Linked DNA regions of Homo sapiens: regions 1, 2, 3, 4, 5 and 7 are each linked to region 6. The links are contacts of gene promoters, found by promoter capture Hi-C in blood cells and fetal thymus (Javierre and others, 2016). All regions are on one chromosome and are shown on one strand. Each heading gives the region's core, a stretch centred on a gene start or on the middle of the fragment in contact. The rest is flanking DNA. Distances are from core to core; before and after follow the strand shown.

Evidence for each region. Contacts are between HindIII fragments. The CHiCAGO score rates a contact against its expected background, and 5 or more counts as called.
Region 1: a contact is called between a fragment that was not itself captured here and the fragment with the promoter of SYNCRIP in region 6, in 3 of 17 cell types (neutrophils, fetal thymus and non-activated CD4 T cells). The highest score is 6.3, in neutrophils.
Region 2: a fragment that was not itself captured here is called in contact with the fragment with the promoter of SYNCRIP in region 6 in 1 of 17 cell types (total B cells); the score reaches 6.6 in total B cells.
Region 3: a contact is called between the fragment with the promoter of ME1 here and the fragment with the promoter of SYNCRIP in region 6, in 1 of 17 cell types (M0 macrophages). The highest score is 7.6, in M0 macrophages.
Region 4: a fragment that was not itself captured here is called in contact with the fragment with the promoter of SYNCRIP in region 6 in 4 of 17 cell types (naive CD4 T cells, total B cells, total CD8 T cells and 1 more); the score reaches 9.8 in naive CD4 T cells.
Region 5: a contact is called between a fragment that was not itself captured here and the fragment with the promoter of SYNCRIP in region 6, in 2 of 17 cell types (non-activated CD4 T cells and naive B cells). The highest score is 8.5, in non-activated CD4 T cells.
Region 7: a contact is called between a fragment that was not itself captured here and the fragment with the promoter of SYNCRIP in region 6, in 1 of 17 cell types (total B cells). The highest score is 6.9, in total B cells.

The regions. Positions count from the first base shown.
Region 1 is chr6:83,197,783-83,200,482 of GRCh38, reverse strand. RWDD2A (RWD domain containing 2A) reads right to left here. Exons shown (of 3, transcript NM_033411.5): 3 at 1,548-2,700. Among named protein-coding and RNA genes, the nearest start is that of RWDD2A, 5.8 kb to the right of the region's middle. The HindIII fragment of the contact is 3,139 bases long and covers 1-2,700 here.
Region 2 is chr6:83,112,764-83,115,463 of GRCh38, reverse strand. It overlaps DOP1A (DOP1 leucine zipper like protein A), which reads right to left. Exons shown (of 39, transcript NM_015018.4): 7 at 2,043-2,141. Among named protein-coding and RNA genes, the nearest start is that of DOP1A, 46 kb to the right of the region's middle. The HindIII fragment of the contact is 1,119 bases long and covers 746-1,864 here.
Region 3 is chr6:83,429,775-83,432,474 of GRCh38, reverse strand. ME1 (malic enzyme 1) reads left to right here and starts at 1,424. Exons shown (of 14, transcript NM_002395.6): 1 at 1,424-1,598. The coding sequence starts at 1,521. RefSeq lists enhancers at 9-1,208, 1,151-1,320, 1,941-2,210 and a silencer at 1,531-1,720. The HindIII fragment of the contact is 4,994 bases long and covers 47-2,700 here.
Region 4 is chr6:83,056,451-83,059,150 of GRCh38, reverse strand. UBE3D (ubiquitin protein ligase E3D) reads left to right here. Exons shown (of 10, transcript NM_198920.3): 2 at 1,129-1,325. Among named protein-coding and RNA genes, the nearest start is that of UBE3D, 8.0 kb to the left of the region's middle. The HindIII fragment of the contact is 7,857 bases long and covers 1-2,700 here.
Region 5 is chr6:83,178,654-83,181,353 of GRCh38, reverse strand. It overlaps PGM3 (phosphoglucomutase 3), which reads left to right. Exons shown (of 13, transcript NM_015599.3): 7 at 1,387-1,544; 8 at 2,598-2,681. Among named protein-coding and RNA genes, the nearest start is that of PGM3, 13 kb to the left of the region's middle. The HindIII fragment of the contact is 1,054 bases long and covers 727-1,780 here.
Region 6 is chr6:85,641,513-85,644,212 of GRCh38, reverse strand. SYNCRIP (synaptotagmin binding cytoplasmic RNA interacting protein) reads left to right here and starts at 1,327. Exons shown (of 11, transcript NM_006372.5): 1 at 1,327-1,416. RefSeq lists silencers at 248-1,267, 1,858-2,007, 2,228-2,277. The HindIII fragment of the contact is 3,992 bases long and covers 1-2,700 here.
Region 7 is chr6:83,078,559-83,081,258 of GRCh38, reverse strand. The region is part of intron 1 of DOP1A (DOP1 leucine zipper like protein A); the gene reads right to left. Among named protein-coding and RNA genes, the nearest start is that of DOP1A, 12 kb to the right of the region's middle. The HindIII fragment of the contact is 3,746 bases long and covers 1-2,700 here.

The DNA of each region.
Region 1 (2,700 bases), core at 27-2,526, 2.4 Mb after region 6:
CACTTGAATCCGGGAGGCAGAGTTTGCTTTGAGCTGAAATTGGGCCACTGCACTCCACCCTGAGTGACAGAGCGAGAGAGCAAGACTCCGTCTCAAAAAAATAGAATGGCTGCACATATTCCGAAACTTAAGCAGATGGTGATTCCAACTGCAGCTGCTGTCATATAAGTTCTTTTTTCTTGGAGCAAATCAGAAAGTAGCTGGCTACTGATTTGGTCAATGCTTTTTTGTTTTTCCTTTATTCCAGTAAGTAAAGACCACTTGAAGCATTTTCTTTATCTCAGTAAGCAGCAATGTAGATTGTCTTTTTCCAACATTACATTAACTTTCTATGTCAGAATATCAGTCTCGATATCAGACCTTTGATCAGCTTACCACTATACAGGGCAGCATGCTGTATGCCTCCAGGTGATATTCTGATTGGACTTGGAGAATGGAGTCATGTTTCCTGGATGCCTAGTAAGATGTGTCATCCCAGAGGGTGAACGATAAATCCCATGAAAGCACAGAGCCTGCAGCCAAGTTTTGTAGAAGTCCAGTGTCTGGTACATGCTGGGATTTCCCCTTCATTGTGAGGAACAAATTGTGTACTTTGTTCCTTCTATAACTAAGGAGAACTCCCAGGGTTTGGTGGGTGATATGGTTTGGCTGTGCCCCTATCCAGATCTCACCTTGAATAGTAATAATCCCCATGTGTCAAGGACAGGACCAGGTGGAGATAATTGAATCATGGGGGTGGTTTACCCCATACTTCTCGTGGTAGTGAATAAGTGTCACGAGATCTGGTGGCTTCATAAAGGGGAGTTCCCCTACACAAGATCTCTTGCCTGCCCCTATGTAACATATCCCTATGCTCTTCCTTCGTCTTCTGCTGTGATTGTGAGGCCTCCCTAGCCATGTGGAACTGTGAGTCCATTAAACCTCTTTCCTTTATAAACTACCCAGTCTCGGGTATGTCTTTATTAGCAGCATAAGAATGAGCTAATACAGTGGGCTTACTTAAATTCTGTGTACCCTGCTCAAATTCATTCGGGGGTTGACCCAAATGCATCTAGTTTTGACTGGGATCAGAAAGAGAGGTCTCTCTAGCTGGTCCAGGCTATGGTGAAATTAGTTCCACCATGTGGACCTTATGAGGGAAAGCCAATGGGCTCAGAGTTTCTGTGGCAAATCAGGATTATGTATAAAACCAGGAAGTGTGAGCAACACTGTGCCCTCTTCAGACAATAACTATTCTTTTGACTTACTACTGGGCTACTTGAGATAAAAGCAAGTGAAAAAAACCTGTTCAAAAGGGTTCCATGAAGGCTGCAGACAGACACCATCAGAACCTTCTCAGGTTCTGAGAGGGGATGGATGGCATGTAAGGAGTTATATGTGAACGCTCAAGTTCACAGGCAATGTATGTTTGATTTAATAAGGAATGTTTTAGAGGTCCCTGTGTTGTGGTCTGCCAACTCATCTGGCCTACTCAATTCACTATGCAGGTGTCCTCAGCTCTTAGCCTAACACATAATAGACCAGTAAGGAATGAAAAGCAAAGAACATACTTGACGATATGCTTCATTTACTTCAGCAAACTTTAAAAAGACACTGTAACTTTTATAAATGAGCACATTTTCCAAATAACCATTTAAGAATATAATAAACAGAATATCCAGATTCTTAAGTTACAAGCAATAGAGACTGATTCTGATTTCCGACAACAAAAGGGAAGATGCTGGGTCATTCAAAGGAAATGCCAAACAGCTGAGCATTCAGTAGGTCAGAAATGAGGGTGGCACTAGAGGTTTAAGCAGCAAGAGCTCACAGCCATCTCTCCAGGAGGCTGCCAGAGGACAACTTGATTCCTATCACTTTCTCTTCCCAAATCACACAGGGAAGGGGCAGTTTCCCAAAATAAGCTGTGTGTGTAGGGGGAGGGGGTTGGGGAATGACGGACTTTTATTATGTGCTCATATCAGGCTGTGCAAACAACCAGCAGACTCCTATACATACAAAGTTGAGTTTTGAATTATACATGTACTTTTTTTTTCTATAAAACCTACACGTCCCCATAATACTATCTGCATTAGTTTTCCTGATAGGAAAAAAAGTATTGCAGAATGCTCAAATTAGACTTATTTATAAAAAAGTAGGTTCTGAAAAATCTCAGAAATAGCTCCAGAAGCAGTAGAGTTCATAACCTAGAATTTATTGCCTTTTCTTTACACCCATCTTTCTGTAGCTACTTTTGCTCATGTAATCAGGAAAAACACCTCTATAAGGTAGGTTGATGGCACATATTGATTCATTTGGATGGAGTTACATCTGTTGAAGGCCTAAAACTTGTAAATGCGAATTATACTTATTGATAGCTTTGTGGAGACTGTGGGGGAAAAAGATTCCTATACTTTGTTGTTTTTAGTGCTGGCAAACATTAAGAAGTGATTCCTTGGCAATGTAAGTCCTATTTCTTCCCTTTGCATATAGGCAAAGTGTCAGGCTCCAGCCTGAGTTCCAGCACAACCAAGGCTAGGATGGAAACATGAATGGCAAGCTGGAGGACCTGGCGGGGCAGGCCTACAGCGAGCCATGGGTTGAAGATCTGAGTTGTGCCCTGAGAGGACACTCATTGTGACCTAAGAAGAAAGAGGCAGTACAAAGTGGACCCAGTTCTAACACCTCCTTGGGATAGGGCCTCCTGCTCCATCATGTCCT
Region 2 (2,700 bases), core at 56-2,555, 2.5 Mb after region 6:
GGCGTGAGCCACCACACCCGGCCACAATGTATTGTATTCTTAAAAACTGCTCAGAGTACATTTTAAGTGTTCTCACTGTAAAAATTAATTGTGTGAGGTAATGAATGTTAATTAGCTCCATTTACAGATTCCAGAATGTATACATATTTCAAACATCATGTTGTACAGGATCAATATATACAATTCATGTCCATTAAAAAATAAATTTAAAAAAGAAGTTGCTTCTTGATTACAATTGATATCACCATCTATTTCTAATATGAAAAAAAGTCTATTATAATCTCAAAGGTGTAAGTACTACAGATTTGGGTGAGCTTTCCAGGAAACAAGTTAAAGAAGTGTAGCAGTCCATCCCACTGCTGAAGTTCCTAACAACTATCATCCTTTTGGGATATGGTAATGAAGGCACTGTTAAGTCACAATTATAATACAATCCATACTTGGATTGTATTCTATTATATGTAAGACATAGAAAGAGGGAAAGTGGAACACTAAGGTACCTACGTCATAATCCTTATTCAGTTTGGTACAGTAATAGGGAGAACTATATTAGAATTTGGTAGCATAGTGGGGAGAAAAGTATTAGAATTATAAGATTATTAGAACTGGGTGTATACTTTTAAAAAACACATTCAACGAAGCTATTGTTTCCATAATACATATTATAGAATATAAGAATCTAGAACATTTTGGCTGGCAGGAATACAGAAAAGGCAGAGTAAGAAAGTACAGGCTGAGAAAAGCTTAGGAAACGCTGATATATTAAGATTACAAATTAAGTTATTCTTGAGTCTACTATGACTTAATTCCTCAGATCTTGTTGAGACATCTGTCAATTGAGGGCCTAATGATGTTGAATGTTTGGAAAGTAAGAAAGCAATGGGAAAAGTTCAAGAGGAAAGTCAATAAATTTTTTGGATAAAGATCCAGACAGTACATAATTTAGACTTTCAGATCACATACATTGCTTTGGCATATTCTTCTTTGTTTTCTAAGTGTTTAAAAAAACATAAATCTTTCTTAACTTATGAGCTGCTGTTTGGCCATCCCTATAATAGAGCATTGGTAAATTTAGATTACGCTGAGATGACTCAACAGTTGTTTTTGTGAAAAGCCAGAGGGCAGAATAAAGTCCCTTGGTTGAAGGGTGAAAGTCTCAAAATAGAAACAGAGTGGTTTATGTTCCAATTAGTCAAAGTATAGACAAGGAAGAGTAGAATTATTTAGTTATTAATATTTCAATATCAAATTAAATAAGTAAAAGAAAAATGTTAATAAAATAATGAATAAAAAATTGGCCAGTCATAATGCAAATTCACTACAGTTATCTATTAATCACAGTTCTTATGAAAACCTCAAATAATAGTCCTTTTTAGGAATAAATTTACTTTTCCAAGGTAGATATTCTCTATATCTTATTACTTTTGTTAGGTATGTAGTTCCACCATTCTGAATGCCTATATACTGGTGCTGTAAATCACTCTTCATCAAGGTTTATAAGTCAAAGGAATTTAGATCCTTTCTTTTAAAATGAGGGCACTGATTAAATTAAGTTCTAGGAATGAACTTCATTTATTATTTGTCAACTTAGTTGCACTTATTTGTAATAAAAGTACTATAGAATATCACAGTGGCTAAACATGTGGCTCTTAAGTTATAGTCAACTCTGCCAAGGGTCTGGCATGCATGTTAAAATCACCAAAACAAGATAACATAACACCAGTACAGATGATGGCTGGGTCTCAGTCTTGGCTTACTCAGAGTTAGCAATAGAGAACCTCTTGCTTTTTATATGTTACAACTTTTTTCAAAAGTATGAAATAATCTACTTCAATGACCATATTCTTATCAAATCAGTGAAGCTTTTATCTTTAGTTTTTTTTCACAACAAATTCCACTCCTTAAGAAGGAACTTATTTTCCATGCGCTTACTGATTTATACAAGAAGAATTCAACACACATGCCTTTAAAAAATAACTACACATTATCAATCTACAGTTTTCCAAGAATGCCTTATAATAACATCGGCGTTAATATTTTACCTGACTCATGTGGAATGGAAAACAGAAGAGTATGAGGTCCAGTGTGCTTCTCTGTACAAGTACACTTGAGTCCTGCACTGAAGTACTTACTGCTTCTACCTGAAATAACAGCATCTTTAACATCTATTGTCTATTATGCTGAGACATTTTTGCCACGAAAATGTGACAACTCTTTATTTTCTCGAAAGTATGCTTCTGAGGATCTAATCAATAATTAAAGATATTTACATTATTTTGAATAGTATATATATAATGATGGTTTAAAAATTAAGAAGTACGTAAGACTATACAGCAAAACTTCCAACTATCCAACTTCTGTTTTGTAGGCACCAGTTTTACTAGTGAATATTTCCTGTAAATACAAGAAAAACACCATATATATATATATTCCAAACCTGCCTTTTTCATTTAACATGTTTTAGAGATCTTTCCTTGTCATTAAAGAGCTTCATTTCTTAATGGCCAAAGTATTTTATTTCATAAATGAACTCTAATTTATTTAACCAAGCTTCTAATCATGTGCACTTATACATTTCTAAACACTACTGTAAATAATGTTGCAATATATAATACTTACATTACATCTGTAAGATAAATTCCTCAAAATAGAATTGCCAGGTCTTGGGGTATGTGCAGTTACAATTTAAATAGCATAATG
Region 3 (2,700 bases), core at 175-2,674, 2.2 Mb after region 6:
ATAAAAACAACGAATTCTAGATAATTCAGGCGAGGTCAAAGAAGCTTCTAAATGTAAATACGGACAAAATACAATTACTGTAAGAAATCTTTCTGATAAGGCAAAGTTAACATAACTAGAAATGAAAACACTGTGATTGGATGTGTGTCTAGTATATGGAGATATAAAATCAGCAAATAATCTCAAACACTATCCTTTGTAATATCAGTATGCAGAGACAAATGGGACAGAAACTAGCAATCCTATTTAACTGAAAAGGAAACTGGGGCACAGAAGGCTTTAGTGTCTGTTGCTATTAATTTATTTTTATCAGACAGGCACTCCTTTTGGCTATGATCTGACTATTCCTCCAGTCCATGAACCTCCAAGCATAAATATCAATAAAACAATAAAAAAATGGCCCGGCGCGGTGGCTCACACCTATAATCCCAGCACTTTGGAAGGCGGAGGCGGGCGGATCACCTGAGGTTGGGAGGAAGGCCTGAAAGACTGCTTACTCATCATTATTCAGAGAGAGCAGTGGTTCTTGAACATCAGGTTTCTAGAACTCCCAGAGAAATAATATACAAGATAAACAGGACTGTTCATTGGGCCTTTGCACCCTAACACCTTGACTCTTATCTTATTGACATTCAAATACAATTCCGGTGGAAAATCTGTAGAAACTGACAGGTGTGGCGCCTGAGCTCTCCTCTCTGGGCTTCCTCCCAGTTCCCTTGGGCCTCGGCATTCTGGGTCAAGGTTGGTTCCCTCCGGCCTCAGGGCCCCGGGCATGGCCGGCATCCTGGATGGCACGGCGAAGGTTGTGGATCTGTAGAAAGAGGGCTTCCAAGACGCTAACAAGACAGGAGAGACGAGTCTGATTCTCCTCAGCCTGTCGAGGTGTTCTGTCAACAGTTCTGGGGACCCCTCACGAGTCCTTCCGTCCTGTAATCCCCCTAGGTGTCTGAGCGACCGCCGGCTCTGCCTGAACCGCTCAGGTTCGCACCTTCTGGCATCTTCTCGCACTTTCTCCAGCCTTCCCGGGCAGGGGGATCCTGGCCTGACGCTCCCCGCTCCCTGCCCCCGCCCTGGGTCTCTGGGGTCAGCAGAGCCACCCAGTGCACTGCGTTTAGGCATGCCCACATGGAGAGAGGCGACCACAGCGGTGATCATAAGCCCATGGTGGGCAGAGGCCCTATGGAGCCAAGGGCTCCGGCCGCCACCCCCGCTCCGCCACCAGCAGCGCTGCCAGGACTCGCTCTTCCTCCTCCTCCTCACACGCCGGCTCGGATGATCTCCTGCCATGACTCAGCGCTTCTCGCAGGCTGCCCTGCTGGGGACACCGGCTTCGCTCGGGCCCCTCCCGACGCGTCCACCCCCTCTCGCCACCCACGCCCGCCCCCAGCCGCTGGGCCTTTCCCAGTGCGGCCGCCGCCGCCACAGCTGCAGTCAGCACCGTCACCCCAGCAGCATCCGCCGCCTGCACCGCGCGTGCGGCCCGCCCCGGCCTGACCCCGCCGCCGAACCCGGCGCCAGCCATGGAGCCCGAAGCCCCCCGTCGCCGCCACACCCATCAGCGCGGCTACCTGCTGACACGGAACCCTCACCTCAACAAGGTAAACCCGCAGGCCCACCTGGCCGCCCATCGGCCCCTCTCTATCAGGGTCAGGGCCCTCTTGCAGGTCCCCGCACCATGGCCTCGCCCCTCCGCCGCTCCCCTGGGAAGGTTCCCGGTGAGCGGCCGCGGCCTGGGGGGCCTTGGTGTGGGCAGAAGGAAGAAGGACGCCTAATCGGGTCCGTATCCACTAGAGTGATGGCAGGGCAGTGCTGGTGCCTCTGCACCTCGGCATCCCATGTTAGGGATAGAGGTAAAGGTAAAGGTTAGTGATAGAGGAAAAGGTGATACTTTTCGGCAGCTCTTCTCCAAAAACAAGAGCCCAGACAATGAAAGTAGTATCAGACAAAGTGTGTGAATGGAGTGCCAGGTCAGACTCCATGTGCCACTCACTTACTGGTTGCACACACAGTGTGGCAATTATTGGAAGTTGATAAGGCGAGAAGTGGCTCAACTGGTCCTGCCCAGACAGAAACGTGTACTGAGTGCCTTCAGATCACGTTAGCAATCTGGAAATCCAAGTCCTCTCGGTTTCTGGAGTGACACGGTTAAGAGTCTGGGAATGCGTGGTGGGTGGCCTCTGTCTTGGACACTTTGCATGGCTTGGTAGAAGAACTCTGTCCCAGACATGGGACTGTGGGTAAAGCCATTTCTTTTCTTTCTTTCTTTTGTTTTGTTTTGTTTTGTTTTGTTTTTAATTTGGCTTTCTGGAAGTTAAAAAAAAATTTTGTTTAGAGCTGCTCTCTTTTTATTAAAGGGGAATTCAGTGTACACCCTGTTCAGAGACTCCTTTTCGGATCCTGGTAACATTTCATTTTCCTTCACTGGTGATGCAATATAAGCACTCGGGATGTCTCTCAAATAAAAAATACCTCCGAATTTATCATTTTGCTTCCACACTTATTTTACAGCCAGGTTTGTCTCGGGATTGTTCCTTTTGTGTGTGTGTGTGCGTGCGCTTTGGACATTTCCTATTTATTCAGGAGTCTGAAAATGCCATCAGTCAGCACAGAGGTTTGTTTAGTTATTTTGGTTGTCTCTTTGGTGGACTGCATTTCACATTAAGAACAGAAGCTCAGCTTTTTCCTTGTCGTGTTCCTGAT
Region 4 (2,700 bases), core at 193-2,692, 2.6 Mb after region 6:
CTCAGCCTCCCAAAGTGCTAGGATTAGAGGAGTGAGCTACCTCGACCTGCTGATTTTACATTTTTTAAGGGTTGTTTTTTAAAAAATAAAAAGTATAATATGTATTCTACTTTGAGACCATACATGGCTCATAAAGCCTAAAATATTTACTATCTGGTCTTTCACAGAAATAAAGTTGCTGACTCTTGTTTTAGAGGATCATTATTTCTTAAACACCATTTCTTGAAATTGAACTTTTGACTCAGGTTTGAAACTGTCATCCCTGCAAAAAACTCAGATGCTTAATATTCTGTATTGCTAACTAAGTGCAGATCCATATGCTTTGAAAAGGAACTAGCCAGAAAGTAGCTATAAGATTTTCTAAGGCAGATTTCTAAGGCCTAACCAAGATCCACACCTGAGCACATGGTCTACCCTCTGTACTCAGATGACACTCAAGCAAATGGCTTGCTGTCTGCACTTAGTTGACACCATGTGGATGACCTGCTGTCTGCACTTAAGAGGGAGCCATGGTACTTTGTACCTCTGTTGCATTGCTAAGCGTATTGCAGTTTCAGAGGAGGGTCATTTCCATAGATGCCTTTATCCCCTCTATACTTTTGATGCCTGGGGGCTTTTGACAGGGACTGTGTTTTACTCTTTATTGCCTATACTGAGTAATTTGTGTTTGCTCTGAATTGGATTAGTAAGTCCTTTCACACCTGATATTCATACATCACTGTATCGTTTTCTTCATTAATTCTTTTTATTCTTAAAATTGACAGGTTTTTGTCTTGTATCATTGTTTCACTGAATCTTGGTCTCTTTATTAAAATCTTGTATATGAAATAACAGTACTTTGCTCTGATTTACTATAAAACATTATTTTAGTGCTCTTCTCAGAAGGAAGAACCAAAAATCTGTCCCAGGACTTGCATATTATGGTGATGGTGAAGGGCACTCTGATCAGATCTAAATCTAGTGTAGGTTGCTTTCCTTTATGATCTGCTTGCTGCTGTTTTTCTGGGGCAGTGACTTTAGAGCTCCTATTGAAGAGGAAGAAAGAGATCCTTGGCCATTTTTGTTTCTTTCATCATGTGGTTTTCATTGTGAGAAATAATTTGTTTGGGTTTTGTTTTTAATTACCAGAGAACCGAAAGAAGGAGGTATGCCCATGAATATTTCCATAATGCCATCTTCACTCCAGATGAAAACCCCTGAAGGCTGCACAGAAATCCAGCTTCCAGCAGAGGTCAGGCTTGTACCTTCCTCTTGCCGTGGGCTACAGTTTGTTGTTGGAGATGGACTGCACCTGCGACTGCAGACGCAAGCAAAATTAGGCACAAGTGAGTAATATTAGCACTTCTGCTGCTGTATTTACCTTTTTGTTATAAACCAAAGGTGATTTTTCCTTTGATAAGTTGAACTTTTCCCAGGTGAAGGGGTTGAGAAGCTCTAGGGTCTTTGTCAGCTCTGCCAGTTATTGGCTGTATGCAATTGAACATGTTACTTAACCTTTCTGAGGCTTCTTCCCTCCCTCCCTTCCTTCTTTCTTTTCCACCCACAGCAAAATTGAGCAGAAAGTATAGAGATTTCCCATTTACCCACTGCCTTGTTTCTTTAATTGTAAAATTTTCTGGCTCACAGATGGGAAGATTAAATCAGATGGCAGTTGTATAAGACCTGATTGATTTTAAAGCATTACATGGAAATTTATTCATTCAACAAATATTTTGGTTTGTGCTATGTGCTAGGCATCAATCTAGGTTCTGGGGATACAGAGTGAACAAGGTAGGGGAGGTGTCTGCTCTCATGGAGCTTACATTCTAATTGGTGGGAGCAGATAATGAGCAAACAATTTAAATATTAAGAAAAGTGTTATGATAATATAAAACAGAATAATGGGATAGGGAGTGACTAGGGTTGGCTGAAGGATGATCAGTGAAGGCCACTCTGAGGAGGTAATGTTTGACCTGAGTCCTGAATAAGGAAATCCTATCCATGTGGGGACTGTTCCAAATAGAGAAAACAGTACACAAAAGGTCCTACAGTTGAGTTTGATACTTAATTTGATTTTAACTTTTACTATGCCTGTTATATTTACAACATTTTGTAACTGGTATAATGATTCGGTAAGGCAGTGGAAAATTTGCTTTTTCTAAGACCTCAGGGTTATTTATTGTATAAAATTATTGGTTCATTACATCTATTACAATGTACGTAATATATGCTTTGGGGGATTAAAATTATGTCAAAGGGGGAAATAGGCTGTAAAAGACTTATGTGATGTTTATTATCAGAGAAAGATTGTAATTCTTTCAGCTGCACACTGACACTTCGCTGCTGCCTCATCTGTAATAAACCTTTCATCTGCGCTGTGTGGATCCTGGAGATGGGGTCAGGAGGAGTGTTTGGAAGAGCCATTTAGGAGATGTTGAGTATTCCCCTGAGTCTGTGCTCTTGGCTTTTGTGAGGAAAGAGAAGATAGAGAGGGTTTCATTTCTTTTTTACTGGAGAGCAATTTTTGCTCAAGTCCTGGGTTAGTGAATAACTAGTTTGAGTTGGGCAGGGTTAGTTTTAGGAACAAAGGGTAGGGAAAAGAGATGTCATGGCACTTAAATGTTGTAGGATAAATACTAGGAATGACTGTTGGAATAACCATAGCAAGAAGGTTAGGGTCACCGAGCTGGGAAGTAGACTCCCTGATTGCACCTAATAATG
Region 5 (2,700 bases), core at 4-2,503, 2.5 Mb after region 6:
CTATCAAGTTTGCAGGCTTTGTTCCCAGTGCTTGTCTGGGGATCCCTTTTTGAGAATCACAGATCTACAGGGGAGCATAGTAAGTATTATTAGATACCTTATCTGAATTAAATACACTATGGAAAGCAAATGTAACTCTGCTTATACAGTTGTTAGCAATCAGTGTTTTCCACTCAGTGCAGAATAGGAGGAAGACTTTTCTTCAGATTTTAGTTGTAGTAAGAGGTGTTCTGGATTTATCTGCATTATAGACCCTAAATTATTTGCTTAGGCCAAACCTGACTTGCAGATATGTTTTGTTTGGCTGGCTGCATTTGTGTGTTTGTCTGTGTGCCACTGTTTAAAAATTCCGTGACTTCTCTTATATATTGGAATCTCTAGCATCTCTTTACCAAAATCAGAAAATGTTCACACATGGCATTAGTCCACTACAGTCAGATAGATGCTGCTCCCCTAAAATAGGACATGCATTCTGGAACTCTACAGACTTCATCCAGTTGCCTCATTCATTCATGTTATTATGCTTTACTTAGTAAGCATTTAAAATGTCAGTGTAGTCAACCAATTTGAGCTCCTTTTCATTGAATTGCTTGTTTTGACATTTACTTGACAGTTCAGTTCTGCCACTTATTTATCCATTTCTTAAATACTGAGCTCTTACTCTCTATGCTCTAGGCTTTGGGACTACAGTATGAACAAAACCATAGTCCTTGCTTTCCTGAAGCTTGCATCATGTCCTTTCATCAATCTTATGATCCCATTCCTGACAAAAGCCTTTTACTTCTTAGTTGTCTCATGTTGAATTTGTCACTCTGCTGCTGTCATGGCTAAGGAATAGCCAAATTTTCTAATAAATTTGATGTGACAATTGCTGAGATTTCAGCAACTTTATGTAAATTTCACAGGCCAGTTATCTCTCAAAGTTATAATTCTTTGCTCTTAATTATCAGTGTTTCTTTTTATTGGTGGTATGAACAAATAAAAATCATTTCTGTTAGAATTAAAGCACATACATCATCTAGTGCTGATTATTTTTTCTATGTAAAGGAGATCACGGTCCTAGGTAAATTACATTCAGAAATACATGTAGCTTTCAAAAAACCTTTATGGGACACCTGTCTAGCCAAACCAACCTGCTTATAAAGTGGAATTTTATGGTAGTATTATAGCAAATATCAGCATAGATTTTGAATGCTCCTTTTTTCACTTTGCAGTGAAAGAATTTGACCTGTAAAAACCACTAATAAACTATGTACTATTTAAAGATTATACACTATTTAAGATTAAGACATTGATTTTTAGGTGGATAATTTTAAGAGAAAATTCTAAAACTCTTTATAATAAATTCTTAGACTGAAATGCATGTTAAATTATCCTGTGTGCTAGGAATGGAAATTAAGTCCAATGAAAGATGCTGTTCTTTTGATGGAGATGCAGACAGAATTGTTTATTACTACCATGATGCAGATGGCCACTTTCATCTCATAGATGGAGACAAGATAGCAACGTTAATTAGCAGTTTCCTTAAAGAGCTCCTGGTGGAGGTATGGTGGGGGGATTGGCTACCCTCTAAAACAAGACTTAGTAGTGAAATAGTTCCATATTTTACAATCATTTGTCAGAAGGGCACAATTTATGACAAATTCTTTACATTAGTGGGCAGAAAATTAAAAAAAGAGCAGTGGTAATACCCAGTCATTTGAACATTTGAGGCATTGGCTTTGGAACCTGAAGGTACTCTTTTCCTCCTTATACTGGCTGAGTTTTGTGATTTGAAGCTTTAGGAAGTTTTGCTTCCATCATAATTGAAACTTTGATGACAGTTCTGTGGTCACTCCATAAAAGCCCTAAATTCTAATAGGAAATCTCATCATCTGATATATTAACTGATTATGATAAGCTTAGTAATGTGAGATTTGTTTCATTTTGCTATTTTAGAAATAAATCTCAGGCTAGCTTTAAGTACACAATGTAATTGGAAATTATTATAATCTGGAAACAGCATACTTTAAGAATTTAATAGATTTTTTTTTTTTTTTTTTTTGAGACAGTGTTGCTCTGTTGCCCAGGCTGGAGTGCAGGGGCGTGATCTCGGCTCATTGCAACCTCTGCCTCCCTGGGCTCAAGCAATTCTTCTGCCTCAGCCTCCCAAGTAGCTGGGATTACAGATGCATGCCACCACACCTGGCTAATTTTTGTACTTTTAGTAGAGATGGGGTTTCACCATGTTGGCCAGGCTGGTCTCGAACTTTTGACCTCAGGTGATCCACCCACCTTGGCCTCCCAGAGTGCTGGGATTACAGGCGTGAGCCACCGTGCCTGGCCAGATACTTTTATTTAAAAAATTAAAGAGGTGAAGATCAGGAGATACAGGCTTCTTAAAAGAGGAATTCTCATAGAATTGTTTTAAATAGTGTTCAAATGTATTTTAGGCTTTTTTCCTGGCATACATGTAAATTTTCAGTCAGACATTTTTGGCATAAACTAAGGCACAACTGAACTGGCTGATAATTTTGGTAGCCTTTAGAACTCTCATTATATTTGTTTTTGTAGACCATACTTTTGATGGCAAGTTAAGTATCATTGTTTTTGTCTAGATTGGAGAAAGTTTGAATATTGGTGTTGTACAAACTGCATATGCAAATGGAAGTTCAACACGGTATCTTGAAGAAGTTATGAAGGTATTGAACCATTTTTGTT
Region 6 (2,700 bases), core at 78-2,577:
CACAACCCTTCACCACCGGGCGGTTTCGCTTCCAAATCTGGCCTTCGTGTCATCCCAAGGCAGGAGCCGCTCCTCGCTCCACTGGAGCCAGCCCCGTTCCCCCTTCAAAAGCAGCCGGGGTTTCCGCGTCCAAGCCTGGGGCGCCCCTCCCTTCGCCGAAGGTTCCCGTGAAAGCGGAGCCGCGCGGCTGCGAGGAGGGCCCACTGTCCAGTTGGGGAGATCGAGTCTCCAAGGGCGACTCTCGCACTCGAGTACCGCCAGTCCGGCGGACCAAAGGTCCGCGGGTCTCCGCGCCGCTCCCCTCCCCCTTGGCCCCATTGTCTGCCTCGCCCCGCCCCGGGGGACACGTGCGCCTGCAGCTTCCCGAGGAGGAGAGCGCGGGGCGGTGGCAGCGGCGTGGACACCGCCTGGAACGGCTACGCGGCCGCGGAGCCGGGGGCGGGGGCCGGGCGCGCACAGACCGGTGGGTGCCCTCCGGGAAGCGGCAGTCGCACTCAGCGCCCACAGCACTCTGCCCCGCCAGCCCCGGACCGGGCAGGGATGGGGCGGGCGGGAGCTCGGTGGGGGTGGCGTGCGCATGGTGTCGCGGGGAGGGGGTGGGGTGGGGCGGGGTGGGGAGATGCCAGTCTCCTGACAAAGGAAAACGAGTGGGACACGCTGAGCCGGCCCGCCCCGCCTGGAGGGGAGAGGGAGGGGGAGTGTCGGGAGGGGAAGGGGCGGGCCTTTCATTCAGTCTCGGCCCCTCGGCCGCCACCGTCGGAGCGGAAGGGCGGGGTCTTGTGCCTCCCCCACCCCCAACCCAAGGGGTGAGGAGCGGGGAAGGCGGCGCGGCGTGGGGGCGGAGCCCGCGGGCGCGCGTCCCGAGGCGTAGGCTACGTTGTCACGTCAGCGCGGGAGAGAGAAAGAGAGGAGCCGACTCGGCAGGGACTGGGGGACCGGGCCGAGAGTGCGAGCGAGCGAGGGAGGGAGTGAGGGAGCGTGCGAGCCAGAAGGGGAAAGGCGGCCACTCGTGCCTGAGCGACCGCAGAGGGGAGTGGGAGCAGTGGGGTAAAGGAGCGGGGGGCGGGAATAAGAAAGGCCGAGAGAAGGCGGACAGAGGCTAGTGGTGGTGGTGGTGGTAGGGGGAGAAGGAGGAGCTGGAGGAGGGCAGGGGCTGAGGGAGTGAGTGAAGCGGACGCGCGAGGGAGGGGAGGGAAGGGAAGGGAAGGGAAGGGGGGGTCACGCGGGGGCGCGCGCGCGCACCGGGAGCGCGCTCGGAGGCGAGTGGAACTGGATCGGGTTTGCTGCCAGCGGCGTGAGCTTCGGCCGCCATTTTACAACAGCTCCACTCGCGCCGGACACAGGGAGCAGCGAGCACGCGTTTCCCGCAACCCGATACCATCGGACAGGATTTCTCCGCCTCAGCCCAACGGGGAGGTAACGACTGCCAGAACCTGGGTGTGGGAGGGGAGCTCCATGACATTGTGGAGTGAGCTGGGGGAGGGTGGCGCGGGTAGAAACCGGCTTTTCTGGAAAATGGATTCCAATGGGGAGAAGAGCACGTTGACTGGGGCTGCCTGGGAGTAGGCCGCGGCCCGCGCCGCCACTTCCTCCTTTCCATGTGCTGCTGCGGTTCGGGCTTTGTCTGCGGCGCTTTGGGAGGAGGCGCCTCCACGGTCCCGTGGCCCGCACGGACCGCGAGCGGCTTCAGAGTTGGTGCTGTCGTGGCGGTCGCCGCGGCGCGGGAGTGGGCGGAGAGGAGTGGGTCTTGTCCTGCAGCCGTGCGGCGAGCTTGGGCGGTGCTCACGGTCCCGCGGGCGTTGAGCCGTCCGCTGAACGCCCTCACGCTGCTGGGTTGCCGGGCAGGCGTCGCAGTCACTGCACGGAAGGGTAAGGGGTGGGGACCTGCACAGCGCGCCACGGGTCACGTCTCGGCCGGGCGGGCGGCCGGGGGTCGTCGGCGCCCGGGGAGCGCCAGGGGCGGAGAGCCATGTGTCACGGCGGAGACGGCGGCGCTGGGGGGCGGGGAGAGCCTGTGGCCTGGCGCCGCCGGTGCCTCGGTGTTCAGGGGAGAGATTGTGCTGCTGCAGCTTTCTGGGGGCTCCGACCGCGGCTTCGGGTTGATGTTGGGAACCAGTGATGGTCGTCTTGGTTTGGGATTCGTTGGGTTGCCGTTGAAGGAAGTTGTAGGACATTGGAAGGCGCAGAGCACGTGTTTCTAATGGGCTCCTGGCGGCCGCAGTGGTGAGACTGCCGCTCTGGGTGCGGAGTCAGGGGCGGGCTTTGGGGTGCGGGGTTAAAGGGTGGAGAAATTGGGTGGTGGGAAGGTGGCTTGTATGAGCGCTTTGTTCTTCGCTGGCTGTTGTTACCGATCTATAAGCGGCAGGCGGGAAAAGCGCGCACTTTGGGGGTTTATCTTTGAGAGAGAGGAGCCCAGTTTTGCTTTCTCCACACACACCTCATTTTCCGAACGGGCACAGCTGCATGTGGCACGCTGGCTCGTACCCGTGCTGATTGGGCTCTATTTGTAATATGGTTTTTCCTAGGGAGTGTTAGCAGGTGAGTCAGGGGTGGTGCTGAGGAAGAATATGGTGAATCGGTCCTTCTGTGCCCTGTGCTCCAAATCTGGCTTGTCAGGCGATAGTGACTGTAAGGCTTTTTTAAAGGGAGGTATAGGCTAGCTGGTGTAGTAAATGGTAGAGAAAGTAAAGATGGGGCTCT
Region 7 (2,700 bases), core at 175-2,674, 2.6 Mb after region 6:
GTGCATGCCTGTAATCCCAGCTACTCAGGAGGATCGCTTGAACCTGGAGGCAGAGGCCACAGTGAGGTGAGATCACACCACTGCACCCCAGCCCGGGCAACAGAGTGAGACTCTGTCTCAAAAAACAAACGAACAAACCAACAGTTGTTTGTAAATGTGTGGAATTATTTCTGGGCTCTCTATTCTGTTCCATTAGTCAGTCTGTCTGTTCTTATGCCAGTTCCATGTTATTTTGGTTACAATAGCTTTGTAGTATATTATGAAGTCAGGTAGTAGAACACCTCCAGCTTTGTTTTTTTGCTCAAGATGGCTTTGGTTATTTGGGGTCTTTTGTGGTTCCACAAAATTTTAGGATTTTCTTTTTTCTATTTCTGTGAAGAATGTCATTGGTCTTTTGATAGGAATTGTATTGAATCTGTAGATTGTTTTGGGTGACACAGACATTATAAAACAGGGATTTTAATTCAATAAATGGCCGTGGTGAACCTATATACAAGGGGAACTATATACAGAACATAAAAGACAACAATCTATTCCTCCCTAGAAAATAATTCCTAAGAGGTAAAAATGCTCTGAAGTGGGATGAAATACTACAGAGGTACTGCAGGTTGGGTTACACATCCAAAAACAGTATTACAGATGTGGCTGTCCCCAAATTTAGGATGTGCAGGGCTGATGACAGGATTCTTGCTGGATTAGCAGTATGCTTTAGTGCACAAATTCTATTATTAAGCACCTAAGGGATGCTTTATAGGACCTACTAAAGACAGGTTTTTTCTCTTGGCAAAGGGAGATATAATTCCTGAGGGTTATTAGTTATGAGGGGACAAAATGATAGTTCAGAAAACAAATATATCAAGGAAGTTTTCCTTATTTTGATGAAACCTGTGAACATCACTGATAGTTTAATATTCTGGTTTAGTCATATATCATTGTATTAACAGTATCTATAGAAAGAAGTAGTTGTGTGGATAATGTAAAACAGAATCCCAAACAACTAAATTTTGCTTTTAGGATATATCTGCTTTTTTCAAACATATCTTTCTAATGTTTTGTTTTTCCTAACATTAAAATGTTTGATTTCACTGTGTATACATTGATTGGGTAGGGGGAAATGAAACAAACATTTTAGATGGCAGGGGAAAAAAAATCAGCCTAAGAGTAAATATCAGAATAGTACACTTAAAGAACATCTAAATTATCTAGATTGACCACATTCTGTTTTGCTTTTATTAATAGTTTGGAAGAAGAAAGAAAACATGGCTTATTTTTTATATACAGCAGAAGGTAAGACATGAGAATAATGATAAAAATGAATGCATTGCTATTCAGAATGATTAGAGAGGTGAAACGCAAGATGAGGAATAACTAACTGTTAACTATCCCACCATGTATTTCTTTCCAGCTTATTTGAAACATAAATTTTCATCAGAAAGTACCTTTCTCAAAGTATCTTTATTTGTAGCTATCATTCTTCATTTAATGACAATGATTTTGCTTAAACTTTTACATATGCTAAAACATACTACTAGAAATAAAGTGAAATAAGCAAAAATAATTTTTACAGCATAATTAAACCCATATTAAGTTAATCAAATCATTATTTGCAAAATAAAATCTAACCAATATATTTAAAAATTAGTAATTTAACGTTTTCAGCATTTAAAAAATAAATAGTATGCTATTAACTTACTACAGAGTTGGATTTTCAAATAAAGACTGGTTTTTACATAAGTTAACATAACAATGCCGTACTATACATACTAGCCAAACATTTTTCTATACTTCCTAGTGTGTTCCAATTTAACTGAATATCTGTAAACAAATTTTAATCACAGCCAGTAGAAACAAATTTTTCCCATTAAAAAAAATCCCATGGAATTTTAACGTTTTTCTTTGCCCATTTTATTAAGACTGTTCCAAAAGTAAAATCATAAGAAAAAGCACACATGCAAAAAAATTCACTGAGATGCAAATTCAATCATGCCTATGTATTTAAAAGATAAGATCAAAATATTACACAGGAAGTCACCAACACTTTAGCTGAGTACTTTTATTTAAAGATGCTTTTTTAAAAAAGGGTTCACCCTGGACACAGACCATGCATGTATCTGTGCACATCAGTTTCCAAAATCTGTGAAAGAATGGTGACAGAAAGTAGCCTTGCACAAGGGTTAACTCCCTTGATGGACAAAGTAAACTAGAATTAATGTTGAGGATATCAAGATACTTTACAGAGAAAAATGGGGTACAGCCTACAGCAGACCTTCCCCCAGCTCCTACAACCCTTCAATGTCCATCCCCTCTCATGTTTTAAGGTTAAGATGGTAACAAAACAACAATATTAATAATGCTCATCATGAAAGAACAAAATAACTTTGCTGAGGTGTTAATTCTGTAAGAGAGAATTAACTCTAGATATTTTTGCAGATTCTGAAGCACGTAATAGAATAAGAACCAAAATAAGGTATTGCTTAATTATTGTAAAAAATCTCTACAAAACATAGGCACCCTCCAAAATACTGATAAACCATAAACTGTTACTACACCTCTCCTCACTTTCCATTTCACAGTACCTCTGTTGTCAGAATATCACTCCAAGAAATGCTGTAAAGTCTGTCAAGCACTGCTATTATTTTCTGAATTTCCTTGTTTTCCTTCATTACTGTCAACAGCACCATCATCTTCCTAATTACACAA